5 separate regions of the Homo sapiens genome follow, and regions 1, 2, 3 and 4 are each linked to region 5. The links are contacts of gene promoters, found by promoter capture Hi-C in human tissues and cell types (Jung and others, 2019). All regions are on one chromosome and are shown on one strand. The core of a region is centred on a gene start or on the middle of the fragment in contact, and the rest is flanking DNA. Distances in the headings are between cores, read along the strand shown. Region 1 overlaps TENT2 (terminal nucleotidyltransferase 2). Region 2 has its middle 9.1 kb from the start of TENT2. Region 3 overlaps TENT2 (terminal nucleotidyltransferase 2). Region 4 holds the start of CMYA5 (cardiomyopathy associated 5). Region 5 holds the start of SERINC5 (serine incorporator 5).

The links. The method cuts DNA at HindIII sites, captures the fragments that hold promoters and counts their contacts. A contact is called where the count stands out against the background at its distance.
Region 1: a fragment that was not itself captured here is called in contact with the fragment with the promoter of SERINC5 in region 5 in 1 of the 25 tissues and cell types used here (aorta).
Region 2: a fragment that was not itself captured here is called in contact with the fragment with the promoter of SERINC5 in region 5 in 1 of the 25 tissues and cell types used here (dorsolateral prefrontal cortex).
Region 3: a contact is called between a fragment that was not itself captured here and the fragment with the promoter of SERINC5 in region 5, in 2 of the 25 tissues and cell types used here (adrenal gland and dorsolateral prefrontal cortex).
Region 4: the fragment with the promoter of CMYA5 here is called in contact with the fragment with the promoter of SERINC5 in region 5 in 1 of the 25 tissues and cell types used here (neural progenitor cells).

The regions. Positions count from the first base shown.
Region 1 is chr5:79,668,715-79,671,475 of GRCh38, reverse strand. TENT2 (terminal nucleotidyltransferase 2) reads right to left here. Exons shown (of 15, transcript NM_001114394.3): 12 at 2,448-2,584. Among named protein-coding and RNA genes, the nearest start is that of CMYA5, 20 kb to the left of the region's middle. The HindIII fragment of the contact is 3,773 bases long and covers 1-2,761 here.
Region 2 is chr5:79,602,036-79,604,735 of GRCh38, reverse strand. No RefSeq gene overlaps it. Among named protein-coding and RNA genes, the nearest start is that of TENT2, 9.1 kb to the left of the region's middle. The HindIII fragment of the contact is 5,080 bases long and covers 1-2,700 here.
Region 3 is chr5:79,649,215-79,651,914 of GRCh38, reverse strand. The region is part of intron 10 of TENT2 (terminal nucleotidyltransferase 2); the gene reads right to left. Among named protein-coding and RNA genes, the nearest start is that of TENT2, 38 kb to the right of the region's middle. The HindIII fragment of the contact is 4,647 bases long and covers 1-2,700 here.
Region 4 is chr5:79,688,517-79,691,216 of GRCh38, reverse strand. It overlaps CMYA5 (cardiomyopathy associated 5), which reads right to left and starts at 1,381. Exons shown (of 13, transcript NM_153610.5): 1 at 1,161-1,381. The coding sequence starts at 1,309. RefSeq lists an enhancer at 1,370-1,871. The HindIII fragment of the contact is 12,786 bases long and covers 1-2,700 here.
Region 5 is chr5:80,254,766-80,257,465 of GRCh38, reverse strand. It overlaps SERINC5 (serine incorporator 5), which reads left to right and starts at 1,418. Exons shown (of 12, transcript NM_001174072.3): 1 at 1,418-1,570. The coding sequence starts at 1,544. RefSeq lists enhancers at 1-318, 319-1,252 and silencers at 1,106-1,545, 1,656-1,935. The HindIII fragment of the contact is 12,197 bases long and covers 1-2,700 here.

The sequences.
Region 1 (2,761 bases), core at 51-2,550, 590 kb after region 5:
CTAAGATCGCACCACTGCACTCCAGCCTGGGCAACAGAGCAAGGTTCTGTTTCAAAAAAAAAAAAAGAAAAAGAAAAAAGAACTTTTTAAATGATTACCTCAAAGTTCAGAAGAAATCCTTATAGACATTTTTAACAATTGCCATAATTCTTTTATACAGCTTCTAGTTTATTACCATGACTACATTCTTGGCTGTGATCCCCACATTTCAAATTTCTGAAAATATCTCATATGAAATGACAAATGTACTAGATGGTGAAGTTCTGAAACCTCTTTCCAAGCATCAGTATCATCTGACCCAGCAGACTAGTTTCCTTTAATATTAAATTAACATACAAACCTACACATCCACTATCTTGTTTCTGTTCAACAAAGCAGGTGATTTTCAAGGTATTTGTATACAGATGCTCTAATCCTACACTATACATGGGAAAAAAGTTATCTTTGTTCTGTGAATCCTTTTCCCCCTCCACAAACATCCCCCAGTCCCTAATTTATATAACATAATAAACAATGTCAATACAGTCTAACAATTAAGAATGTAGTTTTGGAGTCCAGCTTGAAAGTGAATCCCAACTCTCCCACAATCTAGCTGTAGATTGCCATGGGCAAGTTTCATGTACACAAATTCCCTAAGCTTGACAGAGGTTATTATGAGGATTAACTGAAATCCATGGGAATCACTCAGCTTACTACAGCACACTAGATAAATTCTCACTAAACATTAGCTATTGTTATTGCAATATCTTAAAGAGAACTCTAGAATAACCATTAAACCTTCACAGTCTATTTATGTACTATGTCTCATCCAGTCTTTAATCTTTCTTCATCTTAATATAAATGAAAGCTCCGTGGCCGAGCACGGTGGCTCACACCTGTAATCCCAGCACTTTGGGAGGCTGAGGCGGGCAGATCACTAGGTCAAGAGTTTGAGACCAGCCTGGCCCATATGATGAAACCCCATCTCTACTAAAAATACAAAAATTAGCCAGGCGTGGTCACGGGTGCTTGTAGTCCCAGCAACTTGGGAGGCTGAGGCAGGAGAATTGCTTGAACCAGGGAGGCAGAGGTTGCAGTGAGCCGAGATCACGCCACTGCACTCCAGCCTGGGCAACACAGTGAGACTCCGTCTCAAAAAAATAAATAAATAAATAAATAAATAAAAGCTCTTACCTTTTTATACTTCTCCAGTATGACAGTTAAGTGTGAATTCTGTGTCAAAGCTATCTGAAATCCTTTTTTCTTTTTTTTTTTTTGAGATAGAGTTTCGCTCTTGTTGCCCAGGCTGGAGTGCAATGGCACAATCTCAGCTTACTGCAACCCCCACCTCCCAGGTTCAAGCGTTTCTCCTGTCTCAGCCTCCCAAGTAGCTGGGATTATAGGCATGCACCACCATGCCCAGCTAATTTTGTATTTTTAGTAGAGAAGGGGTTTCTCCGTGTTGGTCTGGCTGGTCTCGAACTCGCGACCTCACCTGCCTCGGCCTCCCAAAGTGTTGGGATTACAGGCATGAGCTACCGCGCCCGGCCTGAAATACTACTCTTATTAGCTATGTGATCTTGGAGCACGTTACTTCCCCTCTCTCTATGCTTCACTGGTAAAATGGGCATAATATACCACACACCAGATAACAATTATGTAAACGGAATGAAATGATAAATATAAATAATAATATAATAAATATATGTTTAGAACCATTTTCCCATCTAGTAATAGCAATTTATTATTATTATTACTATTATTATTACCCTATGCAAACTTCTTCAAAGTGGTATCCAATGGTAACTGTACCTGCCTCTAATACTGTACAATTCCTCAATCTTCTCTCTTCCCCCCTCAAGCTTTTCCAGATTGATCAGAAGAGCTGCAAGTAACTCCTAACTCCACTCTCTCTGGACTTAGAACTCACATAAGAACTTTCAGTTCTGTCCAGCCTGATTATACATTCTTTGTTTTATGTTTACATATCATCTTCAAAAAAGAAAAGAAAAAAGGAAAAGACACATTCCTCAATTTGTATATCACACTAACACAACTATTTACGAAGATGCCAAGTATTAAATAGATCTTCATTAGTCTTTCTTAGCAGTGTTTTTTTACTATACATTTTAAGTGTATAGAAAATGGATGTTCCAAACTACACAGCACCTGCACAGGACCAACACATAGGGCCTACCACTATTGAAATCAACTAAAACTGGGCCTACTGAACTATAAATGTATTTATTAGCTAAGAATATAAAATCTATCTAGCTTCCAATAATTCATTGTCACATAGGAAATTTTATAAACTATACATTTCTGGACAACTTTACAACACTGGAAGTGACAAACACAGCTCCTGACTAAATCTGTAGCATTTACTTATATATTCGTATTCATATATATACATACATACACACACACACACATATAAGTGAACAAACACAATTTAAAGTTTTACTTACTCAAATTCTGTAGCATAATATTTAAGAAAGCCCAGTAAGAGGTCCCCAAGGTTTGATTCATTCTTTGAGAGGTAAGGAGGAACATTACATGGAGCTTGATGTACAAGGTGCAGCTGTATAGCAGGACTAAAAGACTCCTGTCAAAAAGAAGAAGGGGAAAAAATGTAAAGCCATTTAAAACACACACTAAGAAACTTTATAAATCCTGAACTAGGCTCCTCTTTGAAAAAGAGAGAAGAAATTTACTCTATTTGGCAATTTGGAAACCTGAAATTTTTCTTCCACTAAAGACTTCACCAGTATTTGCAGTAGAC
Region 2 (2,700 bases), core at 143-2,642, 650 kb after region 5:
ACCCAGTCTCAGGTTTATAGCAGTGTGAGAACAGACTAATACAAACATTCATGTATAAGTTTCTGTTTAAACATGTTTTCAACTATCTTGGGTATATACCTAGGAGTTAAATTTTTAGGTCATAGGGTAACACTATGTTTAATTTTTTGAGGAACTACCAAACTGTTTGCCAAAGTGGCTGCACTATTTTACATTAACATCAGCAGCCTGTGAGTGTTTCAATTTCTCCACATCCTCATCAATGCTTATAACTGTCTTTTTTCTTATAGCAATCTTGGTAGTTGTAGAGTGATATCACATTGTGATCTGCAATAGTTTGCTTTTGAACCATCAAAGCCAATTTTAACACGAAAAACAGTAAATAAACTCTTAGTGTTATTTTTTTCTTTTTTGAGACGGAGTCTCACTCTGTCACCAGGTTGGAGTGCAGTGGCTCGATCTTGGCTCACTGCAACCTCTGACTTCCTGGTTCAAGCGATTCTCCTGCCTCAGCCTCCCAAGTAGCTGGGATTACAGGCATGAGCCACCATGCCCAGCTAATTTTTGTATTTTTAGTACAGATGGGGTTTCACCATGTTGGCCAGGATGGTCTCGATCTCCTGACCTCAGGAGATCCACCCACCTCGGCCTCCCAAAGTGCTGAGATTACAGGCATGAGCTATCATGCCTGGCCAATTCTAAGTATTTTTATATAGTTTTTGACATCATGATGCCTGAAAATGTATGTGGATCACATTTTGAAAATGGCTTAAGTAGGTAGGGTATTGCAGATGCCCTGAAAAAATTGATAGTAGAGAGATTTACTGGGAGCTTACTATATGCCAGGCACCTTGCTAAGCATTTTACATCAATTACCCTTTATAATCTGATTAACAGCCCTCTAATAGAGCTACTATAATTATCTCCAATTTATGGGTGAGAACACTGAATCTCCAGCCAAGCAACTTGTTCAATGTCCCACAAATAATGCCAAAGACAAGCTTTGAATTTAGAGATAGCCTGACTCCGGCGCTCCATGCCTTCTCCCCCAGCAGAGCGTAGCCTCCTCCCACACTCAACCCCAAACCTTGGGGCAGAATCAGCAAAGAAGGGTAGTAGTGAGGGACTTGGGGACTTTTGATGTGGTTTTTGTGATTTTTTATTTTGTATTTGGCATGCAAGCTCTTCTGTGATTTGCAATCATTCTACAGCTAATTCTAGGTTCCTTCATCCTGGATTTGTTAATTTACATCCCTATTCCTGTATACCCAACATGCTTCTGTTATGTCTGCTGAAAATGTTGCTTTTTCAAAAGGAGATGGGAGTGGGGAGGCAGATTGTTTAGAGAGATGCTAACCAGCCTACAGGGCTCTCTTGGCCCAGAAGAGAGAAGGTAGAAGAATATGCCCACTGAGTAAACTGGAGGGAATTTACAAGATCTGGGAGTTCTACTTCCTTTGTGCATGAGTGCGCATTGGTACATTCATACGTCCATGTCTCTTCTTGGCATTCACTTCATGGAGAACCTGAACTAACTGCACTAACTCAGAGGGTTCAGGGGAACCTTTCCTTGAAGAGTAGAAGTTAGGTGAAAATTTGAGATAAGAAAGAAAGCAGTACTGAGATAAGCAGGAGCTTGGCACAATGCCTGCCACAGGGTTGGTACTCCATAAACACTGCTCGACCAAACGGGATGCAAAGCACTTTATGTACACATGTCATTATTCCTCACAACCAATTTTACAAAAGGAGTTCCATTATTTCCCCTGTTTTGCAAATGGCAAAGCTGAAGATAAGAGCTATAAAGTAAACTGCCCAAGGCCTGACAATAATTTAAAGCTACAGCTAGGATACAAACAGGTTTGTTTGTTTCCAAGCTTGTTATTTTTAACTGCTTAACTACCAAGTTATACTGGCTCCCTTCAGAGCAGTTGAAAACAGTCTTTTAAAAGAAAATGGCCAGCCTCAGTGGTCCATGCCTGTAATCCCAGCACTTTGGGAGGCTGAGGGGGGTGGATCACCTGAGATCAGAGTTCAAGACCAGTCTGGCCAACATAGCGAAATCCCATCTCTAAAATACAAAAATTAGCTGAGCGTAGTGGTGGGTGCCTGTCATCCCAGCTACTCAAGAGGCTGAGGCAGGAGAATCGCTTGAATTGTTGTCCAGGCTGGAGTGCAATGGCACGATCTCAGCTCACTGCAACCTCTGCCTCGGGAGGTTGCAGTGAGCTGAGATCGTGCCATTGCACTCCAGCCTGGGCAACAAGAGGGAAGCTAGGGAAACTCCGTCTCAAAAAAAAAATGCCGGGCACAGTGGCTCATGCCTGTAATCCCAGCACTTTGGAAGGCTGAGGCGGGCAGATTACCTGAGGTCAGGAGTTCAAGACCAGCCTGACCAACATGGAGGAACCCCCTCTCTACTAAAAATACAAAAAATTAGGCCAGGTACAGTGGCTCACGCCCGTAATCCCAGAACTTTGGGAGGCCGAGGTGGGCGGATCACAGCGTCAGCAGATCGAGACCATCCTGGCTAACACGGTGAAACCCCATCTCTACTAAAAATACAAAAAATTAGCTGGGCGTGATGGCACGCGCCTGTAGTCCCAGCTACTCAGGAGGCTGAGGCAGGAGAATCACTTGAACCTGGGAGGCAGAGGTTGCAGTGAGCCGAGATGGCACCACTGCACTCCAGCCTAGGCAACAGAGCAAGACTCGGTCTAA
Region 3 (2,700 bases), core at 166-2,665, 610 kb after region 5:
GATTATATTCTGTCAAGAATGTAGAATGCCAATTTCACCCTAGGAGTATACCATAAAACTTTGATTACCAAGAACGGACAAGGTTGACACACTATGAAATTAAGAACATTAACATAAACACTTTAGTCAAATAATGGCACCCTATCTCCAGACAAAGATGGGATGAAGATGTGTCTAAAGGTAGAATCAAGATTTTCTTGAGAACTAGCTAGCTCTAAGACTACTTCAATTAAGATAAATATGAAAAAATGCTCCCCAAATTCTCCACCATAGAGGAAAGGTTACTAAGCTGTCATAAACAAAAAAAATCAAAATGTGTGTGTGTGTGCCAAAAGTGGAAAGGGTGTAACAATCAGACTGTTTTGTGATGGTCTGTCCATTATTCTGAGATTATATCATTGCTTTTTTGGTATTTTATGCACCATCTTTTATGAAGTGATGGTAGTAATTGGTAGCAGTTTTTTGGTTCTAATACTTAACATAGCAAAATAAAAACTCCAGTTTGGTTCTTTTTTTTTTGGATATTACTTTCCTTGAAATCTAAAAGTCTGAGAATCATGTAATGAACAGGTAAAAGAAAATGTAAGAACATTATTTAAGAAGACCATGTTTTTGTAGAGGAAAAAAGAACATCCACCCTTTACAGTTATTTATTTGTCCCCAACTTTTGGAATTAAAAGACCTGAACTTGACATTTATGTATTTATATTTGGCTAAACATCTTGAAACCTTTGCAAAAAAAACAAAAGCCAGAAAAAATAAAACAAATATTAACAATAACAATTTTTGGGTGTGAAAATTCATGGGAAATGTATTTTTTTTCTGTCCACTTTAGTATATTCTCAGGATTTTCTATGAAATGTATACACAACTTATTCAAAATGAATTTTAAAATGTAAAATAACTTTTAATATCACTACGTTTTAAGTATTATTTTAAACATAATAATTCTGAAACAAAATAGAGAATTCCTGACAACCAATCTCACCTCTGAACTGCTCTTTTTTAAGGCATTGGTAAGACAATCTTTGTTTTTGTCCCAACCACTTCTATCTATCCTCCTATACTAGTAAAAGTGACTCACTATAAAGAAATTCTCAATTTGGGTATCATCCTCCAATCCCTATCCAAAGAAGCCCAGTCTACCAGGAATTAGGTTAACAAAATTGTAATCCCCAACCCTAACCATTTTTGATCTATAGCATAAGGAAAGGTGCCTTCTTCTTTTCCCAGTTCCCAGTATCCTCAGTACAGAAACACAGCTATAAGGGCATCAAATCATCTCAACTTTCCAAGCCCAAGCTGCTGTTGACAAAATTGCTAATATTATCTGTTATCCCTCTCAGAATCTAAATACAAGGAGCACCAAACAATGCAATAAAAGGATATTTTTCAATACTTTTTTTTAATGACTACACTGTAATAATTATTATTGAGCATATCACATGTTGATAGTGCTCTATCAGCAGCTCAATTCACAACCGTGGTAAAAATGTCACATTTTATTAGTAATCTGTGAGTTGTTTAATAATTCACGTTTTGGTAGGTAACAGCTATGAAAATGTGACATTTTACAAGTCAAAAATGTAAGCTTCATGAAGAAGGTAATTGTTTTTGTATGTTGTTCACTGCTGTATTCTCAGATCCTAGAATACCTAGCATTTATTTGGTAGGTATTCTATACATATTCATAGAATGAAGAAATGAGTATTATATATGCTAAAATATGTTTTCTCCTATTATTGTAATCTTTGGAAACCAAGACTCTAAACTGTGGAAGTATCACCAACCCAGAACAGATCAAGCCCCAGACATCCTGGCAAACGGTCTTCTACTACATTCATACCAAGTCTTTCACTCGGTCTTCATGTCACCACATATTCATATGTTCAGTTGGTTAGTTATTAAACATCTCAGTCTCCTGGTCTAATAACTACAAAACAGTAGATGCATCCATCTTTTAACAACTCTTGGTGTCAGGCTAAGTAGAAAGTATAAAGCAGCTTAATGTTTATTTCTTGGATTGCTACATATGTAAGATATTTTTGAGAAATATGAAAGTAAGGGTTTCAAATAGATCCAGTCAGTCTGTCCTATACGTCTAGGAAATTTTCAGTACCGTAAAAATTCTCACACTTATGAATGGTCCAAATTACAAGTGTTCACTTATTACTGTTTGCCACTATGCATGCGACAAAAGTATAGCTTTTACCAGAATGGCCTCATAAACAATGACTAACCAGACAAAATTAAAATTTGGGAGCCAATCTGATAAAACAGCCCTATGAAGATAAAATCTAGTTAAGGAGGGCAACTCAGAGATTAAAAGCTTCTTTAACCAACAGGAAAATAATTTAATTCCTGTCTCAAATTCAAAATTAAAAATATGATGAATAGTACTTGAGCTAACTTTTATAGGCCTTTTGAACATTCGTCTGCTTCAAGATAATGGGTCCACAATACAGTGGTGAAAGTTCTTTGAAAACAAAAGTGACTATAGAAAAACTTCCAAAAAATAAAAAAAAAAACAGTGAAACTTCTATATTTTCCAAGGAATAACACTTCTGAAACATTTGTCCAAAGCAACAAAACAGGAAATGTGTTTCATGGACCTTAGAAAGAACTTTTAAAACAATACTATTTGAAAATAGGGTCAACAGAGAAGACACCATAATAAAGCTGTCTTTTACTTTTAAAAAT
Region 4 (2,700 bases), core at 132-2,631, 570 kb after region 5:
TGTTTGTAGTCCCTGCCCACTACTTCAAGGCAGCTCCAGCCCAACACTCCCTCTTCTGCCCTTGCACAGTACCCATAGTCCTCCCTTCCACCTCTATATAGTCTCACACTCCCCATGTTAGGGAAACGTTTCCCCATAGGGGAAAAAGTTAGGGAAACTTTTTCCACAAGGTCCTTGAGGCCAGGGACTGTGCTTGCTTCCCACTTGGCAGCTGTTTGATAAACAGGTGACATACATTCAGGACTTCTTGTCTGACCATCCATCCTCCTCAATGCCCCTCTATGGGCTACTTCTTCAACATCGGCTCTGCTGGCTTTGATTAGGTAAGCTGGGCGTTCTGAGATGGTACACACCCACCTGCCACCTTCAAAGCCTTTCTACTGTTATGAACAGACTGAGGAAGAGACATCACTGACTGACACACAGTCAGGAAAAAACCCAAAACTCATACTCAAGGAAAACAAGTGAAGGTAGAAGCTAATCCAAATAGACATTAGATGATTTCTATTATTCTCATTTTAGGGCCTTCTTAAAGGGACGGAGGGTGGGAGATCGAAGGGTGGGAGGTGCATCTTTTGTACATAGTATTACTTCATCGCATTCACGGAAACTGATATTTGGGATTTGGGACCAGGACTTGAAGAACAGGGATTACTGAAACTCATGCTTCTTTTCCCCCAAAGAATTTATGGGCCTTTGTATCAAAATAAGGTCACCTTATTGCAGCCTAGCCTACTGCTAGGCCCCCGGGGAGACCGCCATTCATCGGAAGGTACCAGTGCGCCTTCACCGCCTCCACCCCACCCCCTTCTCCTCTAGCGCAGGATTTCGCGATTGTTCCTGTGCCTCGGGCCAGATGTACGTGTTCCAGCACATTTCGGCAGTTATGCAGGACCTAAGTAAATCCTCAGGAATAAACAAGAGCAGCGAGTCACAAGGAGCTGGGGGCGGGGGTAATGAACTCTGCTGCAGGCGGGCCTGTCACTCCAGCTGACAGCGAGCACCTTCACCTTCAAGTTCTTTTAAACGACAGTGCACCCAGAGAGAAAGTGCCTAGCTCGAGGCAAACGAACCCCAGAGCTTAAAAACTTAAAGCAAACAAGCAAGGGTGCTGCTAGCTGCCCTGCAGGCCCTGGGCCGAGGAGAGAGGCTCGCGCTACCTGGAGTCCGGCTCCTCCTCCGACTCCGCCGCCGTCTCGTCCTCCTCGCCCTCCGACTCCTCCTCGGTCTCCAGCTCCCGGGTCGCCTCCTCGTCCCCGTCGGAGCCGAGAAAGCTCTCGCCAGCGTGGTTGCTATCGCGGCTCGCCATCGCCTCTCCCGGGCCTGGGCCGGGGCCGGAGCCGGAGCCGCCCGCGCCGCGCCTGGTGTTCTCCCTCCGACTGCTCTGGCCCCTGCCCTCCCCAGCCCTGCCCCTGCGGGGGCGGCTCGGGTTCCCGGCGCCGGGGGCGGGCGAGCCCCGCGACTTTAAATAGAAGGCGTCAAAGTTTCGCCACCGAGCTTCTGGGGCCCGGGCTCAGCTTCTCCTCTTCCCTGAGCCCTCCCCCGCCCCCGTTTCGCCAGATCCCTGGCGGGCCTTTCGGACAACTGGAGATCACTTTAAGGGGCGCGGGCTCCGGCTGCACCAGGGGGTTCAAAGGAGGAAAGGCAACCTAGCCCCGTCTCTTATTTCCTCCAGAGTGAGTCTTTTCGGTTTTGAGCTGAGCTACTTTCTGGACCCTTTATCCCAAACAATACCCTGAGCTGGGCACTTAACTACCAGGCACTCTGCTAAGGGTCTCGCTTTCATTACCTCGATTCTGTGGTGGTACCTGTAGAAGGTTTTACTGTAGTGCTGGTTTCCCAGATGAGGAAACTGAGACTCCGAAGAGCTCCAGCAGCTCAGGCTGTCATTGCTAGTAAAATGACCCAATGAGAAACAAAGCTAGGCGTGCCCTGCTCAAAAGCCCAGTTTTGAACCAGTGTTCCGTCCCGGCTCTCTTTATATCGCAAGTCAATATACTGTGTATTTTCTTGCTCAGTGGTCCCTGTTATTGAGCCAGGAAACTTTATCTCCACTCATCTTAAACCTTGAGGAGGAGCAATTTCCCCCACGTTAGCAAAAAGCTAAGTTTTGTCTGAAACTGGCCCAAATGCCCCAAACCTTTCCCCGGATCAAGTTGTGGTTAAAACCCCTCAATGGCTTCCCACTGCTCAAAGACTGAACCCCAACACCCTCACAAAGGTAACGGTTGCCTAACAGGCCATGTTTTACCTGTCTACTCTTTTTTTTTTTTTGAGATGGAGTCTTGCTCTTGTCGCCCAGACTGGAGTGCAATGGCGCGATCTCGGTCCAGTGCAACTTCCACCTCCTGGGTTCACGCGATTCTCCTGCCTCAGCCTCCCGAGTAGCTGGGACTACAGGCGCGCACCACCATGCCCAGCTAATTTTTGTATTTTTAGTAGAGACGGGGTTTCACCATATTGGCTAGCCTAGTCTCGAACTCCTGACCTCAGGTGATCTGCCCACCTCAGCCTCCCAAAGTTCTGGAATTACAGGTGTGAGCCCCCACGCCCAGCTGGTCAGGTGTCTTTAGAAGTCAGGAGTTCCCAACATTGTCAAGTCACTCCACTGTGTCTTTATTAACACAATTCCTTCTGCCTCAAAGGTTGGTCCCATTTTTACCAGGATACCCATCATTCAAGATCACCACCTTTCACTGA
Region 5 (2,700 bases), core at 169-2,668:
ATGCTGGAAAATCCTGCGCAGCTCATAACCCAAGGCCTGGTTTCCATTCACCTTTCCTCTTCTACTCCTAAGCTGCCCAAGACACTCCTTTGCCAGAGCTCTGTCTGGAAACGAGTCCCTCTAAGGTCAAGCCTTGCGTCATGTGCCAGGGGATCAGACGAGTGGATTCCAGGCCCAGTTTTACTTCCTCAACTTTGCTGTGAGGCTTTGGGCAAGTTATTTAACCTCTCTGGGCTTCAGTTGCCTCACCGCTAAAATGGGTACGGTAATGCTTATTTGAAAGAGCAAAGGGATTGGCGCAAAAATCGCACTAACAGAAATATCTTCATTCCGGCAGGGCGCGGTGGCTCACGCCTGTAATCCCAGCACTTTGGGAGGCCGAGGCGGGCGGATCACCTGAGGTCAGGAGTTCGAGACCAGCCTGGCCAAGATGGTGAAACCCCGTCTCTACTAAAAATACAAAAAATTAGCCGGGCGTGGTGGCAGGCGCCTGTAATCCCAGCTACTCGGGAGGCAGAGGTTGCAGTGAGCCGAGATCGCGTCACTGCACTCCAGCCTGGGCGACAGAGTGAAGCTCCGTCTCAGAGAAAAAAAAGAAAAAAAAAAAAGAAATACCTTCATTCCTCTTGGGGAGGTGGCTGTGAGGACAGCAGATCTGAGTGGGAGAAAACCTAGAGACGGCCTCCCTGCCTTCTGTATGGAACAAGCAATTATTGGGCACCCTCTTTTTAGTGAGGAAGCAGGGACGGAAAATGAGTCCTTGGGCCAGCGCAGGAGGAGAGGCTGGAAAACATATCAATATTCAGGAAGGCACGGAAAGGGCTCTCAATGGATCTCTCACCAAGTGCCATCAGGGCAGAACAGTCAAGGGCCCAGGGATTCGAGGAAGCTTGGGAGGCGCGGAGAGCCCAAAAGTTGAAAGTTTTCTTGGCAGATGAGGGAAGGAAAGGGATTTCAGGAACAAGGATCTCGTGGGTGGGCTGTCCCAGTCGGCGCGCGGCAGAGCGCAGACCAGCACCCGGCGGTCTGGTCTGTGCAGGAAAGGCAGGAACCGCTTACTAAGGCTCCAACCTTTTAGAGGCAGCAACAAGCTCTTTCTCTGGATCCGAAGGCGGAGAGGCGCTGCGCTCTCATTTGGCGAGGGCCCGAGCGCGGCCAGACCGCGCACCAGACCCGGAGCGTGGGGCCCAAAGGCTGGCGGCCGACTCCGGAGCTCGGCGCCCCAACCGGGAAGTGATCGCAGCAGCCCACCCGCCTGACGCCAGCGGAAGTGCGAGCCCGGGTCGAGCCTGCTCCGCCGCCGGGCGCCCGGGAAGGGGCGGGCACGGGGCGGGGCTGGGGGCGGGCGAGGCGGGGCCGGCGGCGGGGCGGGGCTTGGCCGCAGTTGTTTTTACCCAGGCCTCGGCGCCTAGGCGCTTCGCCGAGGCTGATCTTCGTTCAAGTGTGAGCTGCGGCTGAGCCCAGCGCTCGAGGCGCGAGGCAGCCAGGAGGGCCCGTGCGGCGCGGGGAGCCAGCGAGCGCGCCTTCGGCATTGGCCGCCGCGATGTCAGCTCAGTGCTGTGCGGGCCAGGTGAGCGAGGCCGGGCGCAGCGCGGGGGTTGTCAGATCGGAGAACCGGGCCAGGAGTCCAGGCGTGGAGGACCTGCCTGGGTGCGCTCCCAGCTCCGCGGCCGAACGTAGGGCCCGGGTGGGTCGCTCGGGCTGGCCCCGCGGCGCTCAGCCGTCCGGGAAATCCTGTGCCCTGGGCGGGCGGGAAGGGGCAGGGGGAAGCCCGAGAGGCTACCCCGGGGTCTTCCCGTCCGGCCTCCGGGACTCCGCGTGGAGCGGGGCGTGCCGGGCTCGGGCGGAGGATCCCGACTGCTCCAGGGGCGTGTCGCCTCTTGCGCCGAGCACTGGTGAATAGCGCTGAGCTCCGTAGCCCTCTCCACTCTGCTTGTCGGATGAATCCAGGAAGAAAAGTGGGTTTAGGCACCGTCTCCTTTGCTATGCCCTGAATAAAACTCGGGTCAAACAACCCAGGCAGGTTGCGCTTGGCATCTCGTAGTCGAGCGTGGGCTCTGTACCTTTGAGAATGTCTCGAAGCCTGACTTCCAAACTACCGGGCGCAGGTCTGGGCGAAGGGAAAACTCAGCCCTGCTTCCTGAATTTCCCGACCCAACCCTGGCTCGGTACTAGCACGACTGCCTGGGTAGGGCTGGAACCTTCCTGCCTCTCTTTGCAAATAAACTTGTTCGAACCTGTTTTTTAACTCTCGCCTATTTAAACCTATGATGTCTTAAAACATTATGTCTCCTACCAGTTACTGCATCAGTGTAGAATTAGTACGTCTTAGCCCTGTAATGCTGGTTTCACTCCTTCCTGCAGAGTTAGAAAAAACGAAGTAGGTGAGTCTCTTGGATGTGGAGCTCTTTTCTCCCTTTACATGTGGATTATCAGCGTTTCGGTACAGAGTTTTAATGGAGTGTTTTCACGAACGAATCAGACTCTAGGGAGCATCCTGGTTCGGGGTGTTCTTGCTGACACTCAGCCTTTCCACAATCGAGGCCAGCTGTAAGTGATGGAGTGGTTAAACTGTGGGTTTCTGTAACCGGCGATTATACTGGCAGATAATCTGTCCTGTTTAGAGTGGCCACGTGGAGCTGTCTTGGTTTTTGAGGTCTAATACTGTGCTTGGCATACATTAAAGCTGGCCTTTTCAGA